2 separate regions of the Homo sapiens genome follow, and region 1 is linked to region 2. Evidence: promoter capture Hi-C in human tissues and cell types (Jung and others, 2019). All regions are on one chromosome and are shown on one strand. Each heading gives the region's core, a stretch centred on a gene start or on the middle of the fragment in contact. The rest is flanking DNA. Distances are from core to core; before and after follow the strand shown.

Region 1 (5,387 bases), core at 322-2,821, 120 kb before region 2:
TGTAAATAAAGTTTTATTGGAACATAGCCACATCCATTTGTTTCCATATTACCATGGCTGCTTCCACACTACAACAGCAGAGGTGAAGAGTTGCAACACAGACTGTATCACCTGCAAAGCCTAAAATATTTACTATCTGGTTCTTCACAGAGAAAGTTTGCCAACCCATACTCTTAAATCCAAATATTACTGCTCCTTCCAATACTTCAAAATGCCTGAAATTTCACTCCCTGTCATAAAATTCTCTTGTATTCCCCACTGTGACTTGCACATAGAAGGCAGTTACTACATAGCGATTTAATTGTATTAAATTAAATGGAATTGAATTAAATGTATCTATTTAATATGAATTACTTTGGGGCTGTTGCTGATGCTCAGCTTTTTATTTTCCCAGAAAGCCCTTGCCTCAGTTACATGTTCATTTTCTTCAAATCAGTTTTGGCTCCTACAATATCTGTGCATGGCTGACAGATATTACAGGTATGCAGTCCCCCAGATAACCCTTCCCCTTTATGGTATCTAATATCCATGGGTCCAGCAGACCCTGCCAACCAGCTGATGCTTGAGCATTCTATCTTAATGCTCTCATCCCTAAAGGTGTCAAGCAGAAAGGTTAAGTGACTTGCCCAAGGTCAGAGCAGGAATACGTCAGAGTGAGGGCTGGAGGACCACTTAATCTGACCCCCAAGGTGTACCTGGGGTCAGTACCCTTTGGTATATCCCATTTTTAACCATTCTACAAATATGGCTTTGTTTGCCATGTGGGGACAAGCATTGGAAGGGGTCACGCATTGGGTGGGGTTACTGAGACTTTCTAACTGGCCCCAAGAAGGAATTGTAAATTCCTGGACTATAGGGGTCAGAAGATGGGATCTAAGTAAAGCAGCCAGGACCAGGATACCCTACACAGGTGTCCCCACTCTGGCTTCATTTCCTGCCTTGCTAGCCCCGCTCACTCCAGTCCAGACACACTGGTCTATGTACTGTTTCTCAGTCCCCCTCAGGCCTTTGCTCCAGCTGTTCTCCTGCCAGGAGCCCCCTTCCCTGAGATAGCCACAACTTTTTACTCAGGTTTCATCCTCTCAATAAGTCCTACCCTGACCACCAATTAAATACTGCAACCTACAACCCCACGGACATTCCTGATGGATCCCCTCTATCCTGCTCTACTTTCTCCGTCAAATGTATGACCTTCTACCATACTCTGTTCCCTCCATACATGTAAGCTTCACAAAAGCAAGGATGGTGATATGCTTTGTTCACTGATATATTCCAATCAAGCCAAGAACTTACTGACTGACTTATTTATTTGTTTACTTATTTATCAAGGGCACACAGCACTTATTCTGTGCCTGATGTTATTCTAACCTCTTTAGAAAGAATCAACTCCTTTAATGGTAGGTACTCAATAAATATTTGTAGAATGGTTAAAAATGGGATATACTAAGGGGTACTGACCTCAGGCACCCCTTGGGGGTCAGATTAAGTGGTCCTCCAGCCCTTACTCTGACATATTCCTGCTGTGTGAACTTGGGCAAGTCACTTAACCTTTCTGAACTTTCTTTTTCTCCCCTGAGAAAATAGGAATGAGAATTCTCATGTATAAATTTCAGGTAGGATTAAAGAAGATATTGTTTATAAGGTCTTGTTATAGTTTGCTCCACAGAGAAAGAGCTAATGGTGGTAACAAAGTGATGGTGATGGGGCTGTGACACTAGGCAGAGTCTTTAAGGTACCAGGTTGACCATGATAACTTCCTGTTTCGATGGATCGCTCTCTTTCTCTTTATTTACAGGGCAAAAGAGAGATAAGAGGCCTATTAGAGTTGTCCATAAGATATCAGTTGTTTGAGACAAATTAAGGAAGGAACCAGAATAAGTTTCTTTAGCTAAGTTCCCTTAAGATTAAGAGGAGAATTTTTTTTGAATTTCAGTTCTTGTGCGTTCTTTTTAAACTTTCAATGTAAACACAAGGATGGATGACTTAAATATAAAAAGGGATTTATTTAGTCATGCAACAAACATTTATTGCGTTTCTTGAATACCTGATGTGTATTAAACCTGTGTGTCAGGAGCAGAGGACACGCAGTGATCAATATGGTTGGGGTAACCACTAATACACAGCGTTCTCACTCCCACAGTGGTGATGGGTGGGTTAACAATGTGACAAATGCCAGGATGGCGGAACACAGAGCCACAAGTACACAGAGAAATTACATTATAATGACTAAGGCTATTGACTTTACCATCTTTCAAGTACTGAGTATTATGGTAAACATTTACATATTAATATTTCATTTAATATTTCTGCCATATCTGTGAGGTAGTGTCTATCAGTATCCACTTAGTTTAAAGAAGTTAAATTGCCCAAGATCAGAGAGTTTATAAGAGATGTAGGTGAAATTAAATCTACATCCCCAACCCTTAAGCCCAAGCATGGATTTGTAGTTGGCTGACACTAGCTCTCCTAACTTAGCTGATGGTCACTTTCTGAGTTTCTTGCCTTTTTAGAATTTGTTTTATCATCTGTGGAGATAGTATCTACTACCTAAGATCATAAAAAGAATTAATAAGATAATAAATAGCAATCAGCCAAGACCTATCTCACAGTACTCAATAAATGTTAGTTCTCACACCTCTTTCTTCTTCTTAGATAACGTTATGATTATAGAGTTCTAGGTGGATGAATAAACATATTTACCAAATAACTGTATTGATAATAACTAACATCAATCAAACACTTACTATGTGCTAGGAGCTGTGCTAAGCTCTCTTCATGGATAAACTCATTACATCAACACCATAACCCTATGAGCAGGTACTGTTATTATCTCTTCTTTCTACAAAGGAGACAGAGCCACAGAGGTGTTAACTGCATTGCCCCAACGTCGCAGAGTTCATACATGGTGGACCAGGAGTCAATCCCTGGTGCCCTCGTTCCAGAGTTTACTCTTCACCACTTGCTGTCTACAGGCCATCATAACAAGGACTGTAGATGTCCTTGGAGGAAGTTGCTGGTAGTGGTTGTGCCATAGTTGGTGTGATACAAAAAACCCAAGTACTTTATTTGTTCTCAAAATAATGAAATACTATTTACACACTTATTTGCAAAGCACATTTTTCTGTCACCTACAGTTTCACGTGGCTGATGAATGCATCCATTTTCCTCTTTTAGCATCAGTCAATGCCATAAAAAAGTCTGCATTATCTTAGAATGTGCTCCTGCTTCTCACTTGTCTTGCTTAATATTAGTGCATAATAGTGCATAATCAAGTACAGTAAATGGCCCCCTGGTTAGTTTTAATGACCTTATAGCACCTACCATGATTTGCGATAGAGCTCACAATTTAATTTGAGGATGAAAGATTGAAAAATCTTTCTCCATATTGCTACTTTCCAAAACTGCTCAGATGTTTATATTTTATTAACTAAAAGTCATGCCAACTTTCTCAATGACTCTATTCAACTCAAAGCATGCGGTACAAATTGTAAAAAATTCTTTTTTTTTTTTTTTTTTTAAGGCATGCTCTCTCTGTTGCCCAGGCTGGAGTGCAGTGGAATGATCACAGTTCACTGCAGCCTAATCTCCGGTGCTCAAGTGATCCTCCCGTGTGCACTACCAAGCCCAGTTAATTTTTTTTTTTTTTTTTTTTTTTTTTTTTTTTTTTTTTTTTTGTAGAGACGGGGTCTTGCTCTAGGTTGCCCAGGCAGTTTTCAAACTCCTGGACTCAAATGATCTTCCCACCTCGGCATCCCAAACTGCTGGGATTACAGGCGTGAGCCACCATGCTCAGCTTTGTAGAAAATACTTTCTATTCTTTCACAGAATTATCTAAAGAAGACTTGAAGGCAAATAAGGAGAGGAAAAGGGGTAATTGTTTCTTTGTGCTCCTTTTCAAAGCTGCAAACTCAGCCAGAGATCCCAAAACTTGAGTCTTACCTCATCTGGATGCTGCTTTGCAAAAGAATTGGTCCTTTTTCAGGCAGTAAAATATTTGCAAACTTTTCCTAATGAGTGTGATTTGCAAACTGTAATTTCAGTGCAGCTACATTGCCAGGGCAGGTTTGGACAAAAATATGCGAACAATAAAGCGGGACAGGGCAAGCAGAGTTAGGTCATAAAACGCATGTCCCCTGTGCGTTGTGAGGCAAGACGCCAACGGCCTTGTGCCCTCAGCCACCTGTGTACGATTCTAGCTGATCATCTGTGACTCACTGGAGGCTGATTAGATTGTTTCTGTCCTGAGGCCATCTTATTATAACGTTGGGTTGTGAATTTCATTAAGTTTTACAATCCTCCACACGTGTGTTTATAACAAGAGTTATCTCCCCTTGTGGGATGACATTTGTTTTTATAAAACCAAAATTAAATCAAAATCTAAGCTTGCAAAGGTTTTTTAAAAGTGTGTGGAAAACAATAGGCAGAAAATAAATTGTCAGCATAAACTACCATGAACGTAAATAAATGTCCATGGAGGAGCTTGCAGAGATTTTTTTGGCATTACTCAAAATTCAATATGAGACATAAATGGAGATGACATGGAGACATGCTACATAAACCATTGAATAGTTGAATTTTGATTTTTATTTATTTATTTACTTACTTTCGAGACAGGGTCTCGCTTTGTTGCCCAGACTGGAGTGCAGTGATCACAGCTCACAGCAGCATCAACTTCCTGGGCTCCCACTATCTTGCCCAGGCTGGTCTCAAATTTCTGGGCTCAAGTGATCCTCCTGTCTTGGCCTCCCAAGGGGCTGGGATTACAGTTATAAGCCCAGCCAGAGTCTTTAATTATAACAAGTGATAAAACATACCTAAAAAGCACAGTGTGAAATTTTGTTGAGGAGACAGAAAGGAGCCATTTCCATCTTCGTTACAGAAAATGGCAGATCCAAGTTGCATTCTGCAGAGAGTGTTAAGGGAGTGTCACGGACCATTTCATCTGCGTTTCCTGCTTTCTCAGAATGTGGACTCAAGGAGGCAAACGGATGCATCAAGTATTCTGTTCACCTCTGTCTCATGGGACAAAAATGTTCAGTCTCAAACCTTTTAAGAACCATCTAGAATTATGACATTTTGTATCTGGGGGAATCATTTAGTCCAGATATTGGCAAAGATTTCCTATAATGGGCCAGTAAAGATACAGAAAATATTTTCAGCGTTGTGGGCCATACGGTCTCTGTCCCAGCTACTCAACTCTGCAGCTGTAGCACAAAAGCAGCCAGAGACAATGCGTAAACAAATGAGCATGGCTGTGGTCCAATAAAGCTTTTTTATGTCGCTGAAATTTGAATTTCATATACTTTTCACATGTCACAGATTATATTCTTGTGTTTTTTACAACCATTCAACTATGTTAAAAGCATCTCTAGCACACAGGTGGTACA
Region 2 (5,344 bases), core at 1,267-3,766:
CTCAACCTGGTTGTCACAACAAGGGGTTGTTACTATGTCTATTGGATAGTGGCCAGAGATGCTCCTAAATATCCTGCAATGCAGACGATAACCAACCCCCCACCCCCACACACACCACAACAAATAATTATTTGAATGAAAATGTCAGTAGTACCAAGGTTGAGTAACTCTGCCCTCAACTCCTTTTTCCTAATATTTTTGGCTCTCGTTTCTCCTGTTAAGTTTGGTGACTGAAATAATAGTCTTGCCAGCTCTGACATTGTAGGATTTTTTTTCTAACCTCCAAGAATTTTGATACTAAAATTAACCATTGAGGAGTGGCACAGACTTTCCTTTTGCCTAAAGAGGCCAATCCACAGTAGGCTATGGCTTCTCTGTGGCCTCAGCTGTAGCATTTCAGCAACAACCTCTCAATCTGCCATCTGGGAGACCACCCGAGGGGTGGTAGAACATCTCCAAAAAAGTGTACACCCCAAGTAAGCACTAATTTACATTTATGGTGTAGGACAGAACTTCTCTGTTTCTCAAAACCAGTTTGGTTTGAAGATTATCACCCTGTTGACACTAGCTCATTCTGTGAAACTGACAAGCCCACACACCTTTGGTGAAAGAATTTGTTTCCTACCCATTATCTGAGAGCCCATGAGCAGTTTAATGAATATACTGATGGAGGATTCCCTGGCACAAGCTTATCTGAACAAAGGCCAATAATATTCCACCCCATGCAGAATCCTATCAAAGCAATGCATTAATTGATTAAAGCAATTAAAAGAAAGTCTCCACCTCAAATAGGCAACAAATGCCACCAAAACTGATTAAAGAACACTGTCCAGTGACCTCAACCATGCACTGAAAAATCTAGTGAGTGACAACTTTTTAAAGGTCAGTGTGAAACAAGTAATCCTTATGAACATCAAGGCAATTCTTTCACTCTGATGAAGCAGTTAAATAGTGAAGGTCATGGGGCTTTAGCAGCCACATAAAAGAAAGAAGGAAAGCAATTAGACAAAATGGATGCTGTAATCCCACTTTCCAGGCCCCAGAGTCTCGCTGAATACAGAGCTCCTGCTTTACTGTTCAGAACTCTCCCGCTTCACTGTTCAGAAACTGGAAGCAGATTCCAAATGAGAATTCCATAGCTTGATTCCACTCTCACCAAAAGCTGACTGCGTGTTTCTTAGGAATGTCTATAGCCTTGGGAGGTAAAAATAAAATAAAATAAAATCAATGGATGATGCTATGAACTTTACACCCAGTTTGGAATTCCAAAAATATTCCTCCATTGCTCAGGACTGTTGCTGAATCCTACCCAGCCAGGTTTGCTGTACTGCAGGGAATGAATGTCCAGATCTATGGATCGCCAGGGTTTTCCAATCAAGTGGGAATCCAAGGACCAGCATGGACTAGCAGCATTGGCATCACTTGGAAGTGCTTTCAGTATGGAGATTCTCAGAACCCGCCCCAGACCCACTGTATCAGAACCGCAACCACATTAAAATGTGAGAAACACTGACCTACAGGACCCTACAGGGCACTTTTGTTTTGTTTTGTTTTCTGTTTTGTTTTTATCCTTCTTCTAGCCTGAGTTTCCTCAATGGAAAGATGACAGAGTGTACACACAAAACAAACCAAAACTGAAGGAGGGCAGTTGTTGACATGATCATGGGGGTGATGAGTCTTCTCCCAGTTCTAACTTCTGCAGTCAGCATCGCTTCTTTTGTAATCACGGGAAAATAATTTTCAAATGGAGCTAACCCTCTCACAACATTGTACTAATGATCTTTAAAGCGACGGATTTAGAAGCGCTCAGCACCACGCTTGCCACACTGCAGGGCAGACACTTCAGAGGTGTTAGGTGAAGTGGATGGAGCCAGCACGCTGGCCTCTCCCACTCCGACAGCTGGCGAGCAGCTCTTGTCCACCAAAACTTCCCCGGGTAGATTCACCCACCGGTCCTGGAAACCTGCTAAATCCTGAAGGTTCACAGAACCTCTGGTCAGAACTGAAGTTGCAGCCGGAGCTTCCCGCAGGCTCTGTAACTTTCCCTGGAATGAAATAAATAAATAAAGACCGTAAGTGCTGAGATAGCGGGCCCCAAGATATTTTTAGTCCTCTGCAATCAGCCACTAGAGGAAGGGGGAGGGAGAAGGGAGTAAAAAAGTTTTGATCCGTTCGGGAAGGGGCTCGAAGAGAACCCTTGGGAGAAAGCAGTAGCCTCAGCTCCAAACTCAGCGAGCTTTTCTCGGCTGGCGTTTTGTCTCCTATAGCGTAGACTGTAAGAGAACAGAAAGGAGTTTCCCGAGAAGATTCAGGCTGGCGTCCTGGGCTGGCCCGTCCCTTCTGGCGAGCCTCAGTGTCCTCCCACGCGCTTCTGCCTTCCAGCCTCCTCCCTTTTTCGGGGGGCTGGCGGGAGGCATCCAAGGCACGATGTATGTGCGCTCGCGCTCGCGCAAATACGGCCGGAGGAGTCCTGTTCCTCGGGCATTTTCCGAGGAAGTCTGGATCAATTAGGCTCAGTCCGGGGAGAGCCAGCGAGCGCGCGGGCGGCGTAGCCGGCCTGTCTGGGCCGCCTCGTGGGGAGGGAGGGGGCGCCCGGCCGCCCGGCGGCGACCCCGGGGCCTGGCCGCCACCATGGGCTTCGAGCTGGACCGCTTCGACGGCGACGTGGACCCGGACCTGAAGTGCGCGCTGTGCCACAAGGTCCTGGAGGACCCGCTGACCACGCCGTGCGGCCACGTCTTCTGCGCCGGCTGCGTGCTGCCCTGGGTGGTGCAGGAGGGCAGCTGCCCGGCGCGCTGCCGCGGTCGCCTGTCGGCCAAAGAGCTCAACCACGTCCTGCCGCTCAAGCGCCTTATCCTCAAGCTGGACATCAAGTGCGCGTACGCGACGCGCGGCTGCGGCCGGGTGGTCAAGCTGCAGCAGCTGCCGGAGCACCTCGAGCGCTGCGACTTCGCGCCCGCGCGCTGTCGCCACGCGGGTTGCGGCCAGGTGCTGCTGCGGCGCGACGTGGAGGCGCACATGCGCGACGCCTGCGACGCGCGGCCAGTGGGCCGCTGCCAGGAGGGCTGCGGGCTACCCTTGACGCACGGCGAGCAGCGCGCGGGCGGCCACTGCTGCGCGCGAGCGCTGCGGGCGCACAACGGCGCGCTCCAGGCCCGCCTGGGCGCGCTGCACAAGGCGCTCAAGAAGGAGGCGCTGCGCGCTGGGAAGCGCGAGAAGTCGCTGGTGGCCCAGCTGGCCGCGGCGCAGCTTGAGCTGCAGATGACCGCGCTGCGCTACCAGAAGAAATTCACCGAATACAGCGCGCGCCTCGACTCGCTCAGCCGCTGCGTGGCCGCGCCGCCCGGCGGCAAGGTAGGCGCCTGCTGCCCGCCCCGACCTCCAGCCAGGATCCCTGGGGACCCAGGGCCCCGCCCCATCCCTTTGGGTACAGGGATGCCCCGAGCTTCCCGGGAACATCCTTGCTTCCTCCCTCTTCTTCCACTGCTTACCAGCTGTATCACTACTTGCAGGTCGCTGAACCTGCCTGAGGTGGAACACTGTGGTCCTTTATAGTCTAGACGTAACCGGTAAAGTATAGCTGTACAGCTTCAGGGATTCTGGAAGGACGAAAAAGAATTCACAAGCAAGTGTAGGATAAGAATGAAGAATGCAGCTCCAGAGTCAAAACTGCGTTCAAAGGCTTTGCTGCTCAGACCAGCTAGGGGATCTCGGGCAAGTTGCTTACCCTCTAGAGGTCAGAAACCTATAGACTGACACTTAGGAGAGGAGAGATGGACACATTGGGTGAATTGTATCCGTGCATCCTCTAGGATTCCAGAAAAAAAAATAAAGGGAACCCACAGCCAGTGTAGATTAAGTTAAGAAGGATATCAGAAGAGAGGCCTCTGGGGTAAAAGCTGGATGCAAGCGTGGGCTTTGCAGCCAACTAGCTGGCTGACCTTGAGCAAGCTGCTTAACCTCTCTAAAGTTGGAAACTATGGTCCCTAGAGACGTGGTATACAGAGTAAAAACACAGCCAGGCACCCCTGAGGTATTCATCCAGGGATTTCAGAAAGAATTAAAGGAGCACTCTGCCCCCAACAAGTATAAAGTAATAATTAAGTGTGAGTCCTCTGGAGTTAAAACTGTTTTCAAATCTGGGCTTTTTGCTGACCAGCTGGGTGAGCTTCTGGCTTAATTCCCAGATCCCTCAGTTTCCCTCAGTGCGAAAGGTTTTTGTCAGGCTTCAGGGAGAGAGTTTAGTAGAAGGGCCTCGTACTGTGCCTGGCAGAGAGTAAATAAATGCTCAACAAGTGTTACCTAGAATTATTTTTAACATCTCCACCTGAGCGGTCCCCTTGAGCGAGGGTTTACTTTGCTCCAGGCTGGGTGCTGCATTCTTCCCAGTCATTTCCTTTTTAATCAAGTGAGGTTGGTGTGACCCTTCCCACTTAGTAGATGAAAAAACTGAGGCTCATTAAGGGGCAGTTTCATGCCTGGGTCACAGCTTTTGGGTGCAAAGCTGCATGTTGAACCTTTGCGTGCCCATCTTTCCAGCCCACGTTCTATAAACTATCATGTTGCTCCTCAGTGCAACCACAAGGACCATTTATTGAGTGTTTATTAAGTGCCACCAACAATAGGAAGTACTTTACATGCATTACCTATGTTGTCCTTTGAGATGAGGGAACAGACTCAGAGAAGTTATATAACTTGTCCAAAATTAAGTAGTGACTCAGGGAGCAGAGCCGGACTCAGATTCTACCTCAGAGTTCTCAGTTTTGGGGCATATTGGCATTTTGGGCCCCATAACTCTTAGTTGGGAGGGGAGGTACTGTGCTGTGCATTGTAGGATGTTTAGCAGCATTCTTGGCCTCCCTCCCAAGTCGTGACAATCCAAATATTGTCAAGTGTCCTCTGGAGGGGCAAAGTCGCCCAGGTTGAGAACCACTGGTTTCCCTGATTGCAGAAGCCACATTTTCAACAGCTGGGTACTTCTGCCTTCCTGGGGAGGGGCCTGGGCCTGCTGCCACCGCTCTGGTTGCCTGCTCCAGATGGTGTGGCAGAAAGGGGAAAATATTTGCCCGAGGCTCCCCCAAGGGCCTGTGTCTGCTTTGCCTCTCTCTGCCCTCTCCCAGCCCCCTTTCCTTACGTGCACACCAGGCCTGCAAGTTTTCCGACCTGGCCCCCCTTCCTGGCCCCTGGCCTGTCTGTCAGCTGCAGTCTCAGCAGCTGGCCAGCTCTGGGCGAAGGGCAAATATTTACAGCTCCACAGCTTGCCCAGGACCTCACAGGCACACAAAAGACTGGTGTGAGCCTTCGAATCACCAAAACAGAGGGCAAAGCTTGGTCTTCAATCAGG

The links. The method cuts DNA at HindIII sites, captures the fragments that hold promoters and counts their contacts. A contact is called where the count stands out against the background at its distance.
Region 1: a contact is called between a fragment that was not itself captured here and the fragment with the promoter of PDZRN3 in region 2, in 3 of the 25 tissues and cell types used here (aorta, bladder and mesendoderm cells).

What each region holds. Positions count from the first base shown.
Region 1 is chr3:73,745,628-73,751,014 of GRCh38, reverse strand. No RefSeq gene overlaps it. Among named protein-coding and RNA genes, the nearest start is that of LINC02005, 61 kb to the left of the region's middle. The HindIII fragment of the contact is 6,509 bases long and covers 1-4,825 here.
Region 2 is chr3:73,622,113-73,627,456 of GRCh38, reverse strand. PDZRN3 (PDZ domain containing ring finger 3) reads left to right here and starts at 2,516. Exons shown (of 10, transcript NM_015009.3): 1 at 2,516-3,354. The coding sequence starts at 2,632. PDZRN3-AS1 (PDZRN3 antisense RNA 1) reads right to left here and starts at 3,889. Exons shown (of 2, transcript NR_046681.1): 1 at 3,492-3,889; 2 at 1-2,045. RefSeq lists an enhancer at 4,583-5,097. The HindIII fragment of the contact is 5,146 bases long and covers 336-5,344 here.